Regions from separate parts of the Homo sapiens genome. Here region 2 is linked to region 1. Evidence: promoter capture Hi-C in 16 types of primary human blood cells and fetal thymus (Javierre and others, 2016). All regions are on one chromosome and are shown on one strand. The core of a region is centred on a gene start or on the middle of the fragment in contact, and the rest is flanking DNA. Distances in the headings are between cores, read along the strand shown. Region 1 holds the start of RNF185 (ring finger protein 185). Region 2 overlaps OSBP2 (oxysterol binding protein 2).

Region 1 (3,834 bases), core at 727-3,226:
GCCTCTGCTCCCTAAGACAACATAAACATTCCTAAGCATTCTAGCAGGTGTTGAAAAAGTGATTTAGGCAGAGCTTTGTAATGCACAAAATAAGGACATAATAATGTTTGATTAGAAAACCAAAGGTATGCTAGAGGCCAGGCACAGTGGCTTACACCTGAAATCCCAGCACTTTGGGAGGCTGAGGCAGGCGGATCACTTGAGGTCAGGAGTTCGAGACCAGCCTGGCCAACATGGTGAAACCCCATCTCTACTAAATACTCAAAAAAAAAAAAAAAAAAGCTGGAACTTGTCATGTGTGTGAACTGGCAAGTCAAGTCTATAAGAGGACTGTTTTTATATGATGCATGGAAAGCTAGCCAACAGACTGCAAAAATTCTCTCACATCTATACACATATTGCTGAAGAGAGGATTCAAGCAGGGATTATGTTCCAGGGAAGAGAAGGCTGGTCTGAACAACCTCAAGGGGTGCTTTCAACTGAGAGTCCTCAATTTTGTGATTCAGAGTTCACTGGCTTCTCCTGGTCAAACATAAAATCTTCAGAGGCATTTCCAACTTGTTCTTAGAAAAAAGCTACTAACCCATGGGGTGGGACCCAGTTTACTTATTCATTCAATAAACATTTAAGGTGCCTCTATCAGATATTGGGTCATTCCAAAGTCCTTGAAAAGAAGGATGGTGCACAGGACAACCAGGAAGAGATTATGTAAGGTCAGATGCATTGGCCTTATTTACAGGAGATGTAGGCTAAAGTGATGGAAGTGTCAAAAGAGAAGAAAAAAGTCACATTTGCCTTGAGAGCAGAGTCAGCACCAGAAAGATGCAGAACAACTCCTTGGAATCACAGACTTTCAAGTTGGAAAGGACCTTCATCTAATACCTATATACCTCCCTCGAAAGGAGGCACGGAGGCAATCCATTCACTCCATCGGTGGTCACCTCTGACGATTCTTCCATTTAAGTTCTTCTATTAAGCAAAAATCTTGCCTTCCTGTAGAATTCACCTGTTAGTCCTAGTTCTGCCTCTTTTAGCCTAAAGATGAAGTGGAAGCCCTCTTTGCCGTAACAGTATTTTCAATTTTTAAAAAGTTAATTCCCTTCCAGTGCTCTCTTTACTGAGCTAACCATTCCAGTTCTTTCAAAGTTCCTGAACTGGCACCAGCTGCCTCAAAGCGAAGAATGGATATCTAGTGCTCACAGCAGGAAAGCACTTAAAATCAATGAGCTTCAAACATTAGTATATACAGGACCCCCCTACGCATAAGTTCAGATTCTAAACCAGAAGTCTGAATTGAGTCCCGCGCTGTAAAGCCGGCATCTCAGAGAATTACAAAGCAGATGGTGTAAGAACCATATTTTGAAAAACACTGCCCCGTTTTAGAGACGAGAAAACTGAGGCCCAGCACAGGGAAGAGATTTGGCCCAGAACGCACAATTGTCTGTCGGTGGCGAAGTCTCGAATCCAGGTCTCTTACTTTCAGCCCAACTCTGTTCACCGCGCTCCCCGGCCTCTGCTTCTCCACTCAGGGCAAACTCGTGAAATGCACTCCCAGATGATAGAGGCGGTCTCGCACGGGGGATAGAATGGGAATCAGTGCCCATGCCTCGAAAGGAGAGCTTGTGGGAGCCCTTCTCTTTCGCAAGGCCTCAGTTTCCCCAATCTGTATTCATGGGACGCAGAACCACAACGCCAGCTCGTCCTCTTTTCGGGGACAGACACGACCGGTCTTGCTGTCTCTGGGCCCCTGGGCTCAGATGTTCAAGCCCGTGTGTCCTGGGAAGGCGGACCCGGGTCTCCCGCCCCCGTCCCTAAACTTTGGCGCCCCCGCCCCAACCCCAGCCCCTCACATACCTGCCTCCGCACAGTTAACGCCAGCCCAGTCAATCAGTTTTTCGGGTACACGGCCAATACTAACGCCGCGTCAATCTGTTGGGTAAGACCTCCGACCCCTCCTACGCGGACTCCAGTCACATGACGCGGAGCCGCCCCTCTCGGAGGGACTTCCGGCCCCAACCGGAAGAGGTTAATTTCCATGGCTGAAGCTCTAAGGTTCCGCCTGCGGGCAGGAAGCGGAGGAACCTTGGAGCTTCGGCAGCTTTTCAAAGAGCTTTGGGTTCGGGGCTCCTAAAAGAAAAAAACTGATTCCGGCCGGGCGCGGTGGCTCCCACCTGTAATTCCAGCAGTTTGGGAGGCCGCGGCGGATGGATCACTTGAGGTCAGGAGTTCGAGACCAGCCTGGCCAAAATGGTGAAACCCCTCTGTACTCAAAATACAAAAAGTAGCCGGTCGTGGTGGCGCACACCTGTAATCCCAGCTACTCGGGAGGCTGAGGCAGGATAATCGCTTGAACCCGGGAGGCGGAGGTTGCAGTGAGCTGAGATCGCACCACTGCACTCTAGCCTGGGCGTCAGAGTGAGACTCCGTCAAAAAAAAAAAAAAAAAAGAGAGAGAGAAAGAACTAACTCATTCCGGAAAGTACCAGATAAACTTGGAACATCTTGTTACACCAGAATATAAGGATGATGGTAATAAGAATCATGGGAATGTGTCAAAGAACACAGGAGCTGTCTTTAAGGAGATCTTACTGGCCAAGTCAGGGCAATTTCAGAATCAAAATATGGAGTGATAGTAATAGAGTATAACTAATTGAATAAAATAGTAATCCATGAGTCTTTACAAACATAAAGAAGTGAGCATATTAATGGGTGAAGGGAAAGTCTTCCTTTTAGTAGAATGCTAGCTAATAAACATGGTGGAATTAGGAAATCAATAATGTGTGGTAAAACTAGAGAAACGGGATGTTTACAACAGCAAAAGTGTCTCCCATAAATTAGCTATTGATTACAAAGGGAAAATGGTGATGTTACAGAGGTTTAACCTAGCAGAACAAACAGATCAAAGTGATCAAAGTTAACACCACTAGTTAATGGGTCAGATCAAGGGCCTCCTAATAAAATGCACTGAGAACACATCTGTGGTATTTCTGTCAAAAGTGCACCGTACACATCTCATGAGGAAGTGCTAGAGAACCCCAAATGAAGGACACTGTCTACAAAATAACTCATTGTCATGAAAAACAGAGAAAAGCTGAGGAACTGTTCCAGTTTAAAGGAGACTAAAGAAGCATGACAACAAAATGTGGTGTGTGATTCTAAATAGGACCCTGGACTGGGGTAGTGGTGGTGGTGGAATAGTTGTAATGGACAATATTGGGACAAGTAATGAAATTTGAATATGGATTGTGGATTAGCTGTTAATACATATTGTATCAAATCACATACTGATAGGTGATGGAGCTTGTGATTTGCACTCAAGCAGTCATTGGAGTTCTTGACAGCCATCTTCATTCATTCAACAAGCATTTATTAAGTACCTACAGTTATCCCAGGAACGGTTAGGGATCGGACCTGAGTAGGAGGTGAACATAGTAGATAAAGGCCGGCGCGGTGGCTCACGCCTATAATACCAGCACTTTGGGAGGTCGAGGCAGGCAGATCACCTGAGGTTAGGAGTTCGAGACCAGCCTGGCCAACATGGTGAAACTCATCTCTACTAAAAATACAAAAATTAGCCAGGCGTGGTGGCGGGCACCTGTAATCCCGGCTACTTGGGAGGCTGAGGCTGGAGAATTGCCTGAACCCAGGAGACAGAGGTTATAGTGAGCCAAGATCGTGCCATTGCACTCCAGCCTGGGCGACAAGAGTGAAACTCCATCTCAGAAAAAAAAATAAAAAATAGTAGATGAAATAAGCTCATAGATGAAAGTCCTAGTCTGCCAGCCACCTTTGCAAGTTCCTGTGATCAAGAAGTAATACAAGGGATGTTTCCAGT
Region 2 (3,834 bases), core at 462-2,961, 400 kb after region 1:
TTTACCATGAATAATGTTAAATTTTGTCAAATGCCTTTTTCTGTATCAATTGATATTATAATGTAGTTTTTCTTAGATTGTTAATATTATGATTCCATTTATATTGATTTTCTTTTTTTTTTCTTTTTTTGAGACAGAGTCTTGCTCTGTTGCCCAGGCTGGGGTGCAGTGGTGCGATCTCCACTCACTGCAACCTCCGCCCTGCCAGGGTTCAAGCGATTCTCCTGACTCAGCCTCCTAAGTAGCTGAGACTACAGGTGTGCACCACCATGCCTGGCTAATTTTTGTATTTTCAGTAGAGACAGGGTTTCACCATGTTGGCCAAGCTGCTCTTGAACTCCTGACTTCAAGTGATCTGCCTGCATTGGCCTTCCAAAGTGCTGGGATTACAGGTGTGAGCCACTGCCCCCAGCCCCATTTATTGATTTTCAAACATGGAACCTATCTTGCACCTATCTTGCACTCATCTTGCACTCCTAGCATGAAATCCACTTGATCATGGTGTAATATTCTATTGTATTGCTGGTTTCAAATTGTTAATATTTTGTTGAAGATGTTTTCATCTATGCTCATGAGAAATATTGGTCCGAAGTTTTCTTTTCTTACACTATCTTTGTTCAGTTTGGTATCAGGGTATGCTGTCCTTATAAATGAGTTAGAAATTACTCACTCCTGTAATCCTAGCACTTTGGGAGGCCAAGGCGAGCAGATCACTTGAGGTCAGGAGTTTGAGACCAGCCTGGGCAACAGTGCAAGACTCTGTCTCAAAAAAAAAAAAAAAGCCGGGTGCAGTGGCTCACGCCTGTAATCCCAGCACTTTGGGAGACCAAGGCAGGCGGATCACCTGATGTCAGTAGTTCAGGATGACCCTGGCCAACATGGTGAAACCCTGTCTCTACTAAAAATACAAAAAAAAAAATTAGCTGGGCGTGGTGGCACATGCCTGTAATCCCAGCTACTAAGGAGGCTGAGGGAGGAGAACTGCTTGAACCTGGGAGGCAGAGGTTGCAGTGAGCCAAGACTGCACCACTGCACACTCCAGCCTGGGCAACAGAGCGAGACACTGTCTCAAAAAAAAAAGAAAAGAAAAATTAAAAAAGAAAAGAAATTACTCATTCCTCTTCTGTTTTCTGGAAGAGATTGTGTGGAAATAGTGTTATTCTTTTTTCAAATATTTGATAAAATTTACCTGTGAAATCATGTAGGCCTGAAGACTTCTTTTTTGAAGTGTTTTAAACTATGAATGCAACTTCTTTAATAGTTATAGGATTATTCAGTTTATGGATTTGATCTTGGGCAAGTGTTAGAATTTGATTTTTGAAGAATTGGTTCATTTCATCCAAGTTGTCAAATTTGTCAGCAGAGTTGTCTGTAGCATTCCTTTTATGTATTATGTATCTATTTTATGTTTTTGTAGTATTGTCCTTTTATGTTTGTTAGTGCTATTAATTGTTTATTTCATTCCTGATGTTGGTAATTTGATATTTTCATTTTAGCAGTCTATCAAATAAGTTGGGTTAAGGCCACAGGTAGTGACCAGCCGTCTCTGGGTGGTGGTTTCACTGTTTGTTCCATTTTCAAAGCCTTTGCAGTACTATTTGTTTTTGTTTTTGAGACAGAGTCTTGCTCTGGAGTGCAGTGGTGCAATCTCGGCTCACTGCAAGCTCTGCCTCCCAGGCTCAAGCGATTCTCCTGCCTCAGCCTCCCGAGTAGCTGGGATTACAGGTGTGCACCACCACGCCTGGCTAATTTTTGTATTTTTAGTAGAGACGGGGTTTCACCGTGTTGGCCAGGCTGGTCTCGAACTCCTGGCCTCAAGTGATCCACCTGTCTCGGCTTCCCAAAGTGCCAGGTTACACTGCGCCCGGCCCTTTGCAGTACTAGTTGGATCTGTTCCACATGTGTGCCAGCCAGTGGCCACAGGGACGTGGGTATTCATGCAGCTTTAAGTTCAGTTCTCAAAATCTTTAGTATGCTGTTTAGGATCAGATCCATCCATGTGCGGCTTGAACGTGAAGCCAGGAGTTCATGAAAACAACGTTATGGGGTCACTTTCCCAAGGTGTTCTCTTTCTGTGATTTCCTGTTTTTTTCTGGTTCTCTTGGGCTCTGTTTCAGTCCTCTGGCTGCCCACTTCCCACCACCACACCTATATCGGGGGCTAAGTGGTAGGAAGAGTGAGAGAAAAATGGAACAGGGGTTCCCTCACTTCTTGGGCCCAGAGCTCTTCCTACTGGTGTGCATGGATTCCTCTGAGTTTTTGGTACCTGCAGGCCTCTCATCGCCACTGCTATCACTGACAGGGGACCCTTTCCTCCTTGAGCCTGAACTAGAGGGCTTCTCCAGGAGTTTTCTCTGTCTGCTCACTTCTGGGTCTCCCCTGAGTCCACTCTAGAAGATACTGGAGGGAAAAAATTGTAACCTCACCACCTGTTTGGTGTTACCTCAGATTCTGGTCTTCTCTAGTCTGCTTGTGGCTACTTAATTTTCAGGGTGCTCAAATAGCTGCTCTGTGCATTCTGTCCACATTTTATTTTATTTTATTTTTGAGACAGAGTCTCGCTCTGTCACCCAGGCTGGAATGCAGTGGTGCCATCTCGGCTCACTGCAACCTCTTCCTCCCGGGATCAAGTGATTATCACACCTCAGCCTCCCCAGTAGCTGGACTACAAGCGTGCGCCACCACACCCGGCTAATTTTTGTATTTTTAGTAGAGATGGGGTTTCACCATGTTGGCCAGGCCGGTCTCGAACTCCTGGCCTCAAGTGATCGGCCTGCCTCAGGCTTCCAAAGTGCACGGATTACAGGCATGAGCCACTGTGCCTGGCCCTGTCCATGTTTCATAGCTGCAGAGTGAAACCTTCTCACTTAATCCTACCTGGAACTGGAACTGAGCAGAATTGGATTTTAAAAGACTCACTCTTGCTGTCCAGACTCTGGGAGGTCAGATAGTGAAACTGGGTTGGAGGCCAGGCAGATGGAGGGCAGTGGGCAGATGTGAAAGTGCTCAGGTCTGGCACTGACAGGATCTGCTGACAAGCTGCACATGAGGGATCAGGGAGGGCAGGACTCAAGGTGACACCCAGGTTCACTTCTTAGTCATCTGCCAGGTCTGGAAAGTGACCTGAGACCTTGGCTAGTACAGTTTCAAAGTAGTGAGTGGTGGGTCATATGCAGTGGGAAGAGGCCAGGAGAGAGGTTGAGGCTACAGGAGTGACAAAACAGCAATAAGGCTGGGTGCAGTGGCTCATGTCTGTAATCCCAGCACTTTGGGAGGCCGAGGCGGGCAGACCACTTGAGGTCAGGAGTTTGAGACCAGCCTGGCCAACATGGTGGAACCCTGTCTCTACCGAAAATACAAAAATTAGCCAGGTATGGTGGCACCCACCTGTAGACCCAGCTACTCGGGAGACTGAGACAGGAGAATCACTTGAACCCGGGAGGCGGAGGTTGCAGTGAGCCGAGATCATGCCATTGTACTCCAGCTTGGGCGACAGAGACTCTGTCTCAAAAAAAAAAGAAAAGAAAAGGAAAAAGAAAACAGCGATAAAACCAAGTCCCCCAGCAAGAGGGAGAAAATCACCCTTTGAAGCTGGCACTGCTTCAAAGGGGAGAAATGTCTCCACTGGAATCATTTGGGATTCATATGGCAGGGGGGACGCAGGGAGCGTGTAATGGCAGAGAGCTGAGGGGCTCAGCTGTGGATCTGGTTTTGTTCTATGCATGAGGAAGCAAGATCTTTTGCAGTGTGGCAGGAGGCAGCAGTGAAAATATACAGAGTAGCAAGGACGTCCCTGGGAGATGGGAGAGAAAGGTGGTGAGGGACTCACACAAA

The links. Contacts are between HindIII fragments. The CHiCAGO score rates a contact against its expected background, and 5 or more counts as called.
Region 2: a fragment that was not itself captured here is called in contact with the fragment with the promoter of RNF185 in region 1 in 1 of 17 cell types (M1 macrophages); the score reaches 5.1 in M1 macrophages.

Annotation. Positions count from the first base shown.
Region 1 is chr22:31,158,324-31,162,157 of GRCh38, reverse strand. RNF185 (ring finger protein 185) reads right to left here and starts at 1,976. Exons shown (of 7, transcript NM_152267.4): 1 at 1,855-1,976. MIR3928 (microRNA 3928) reads left to right here and starts at 2,039; the gene lies at 2,039-2,096. The HindIII fragment of the contact is 23,924 bases long and covers 1-3,834 here.
Region 2 is chr22:30,757,114-30,760,947 of GRCh38, reverse strand. All of the region lies in intron 2 of OSBP2 (oxysterol binding protein 2), which reads right to left. Among named protein-coding and RNA genes, the nearest start is that of MIR3200, 27 kb to the right of the region's middle. The HindIII fragment of the contact is 7,351 bases long and covers 1-3,834 here.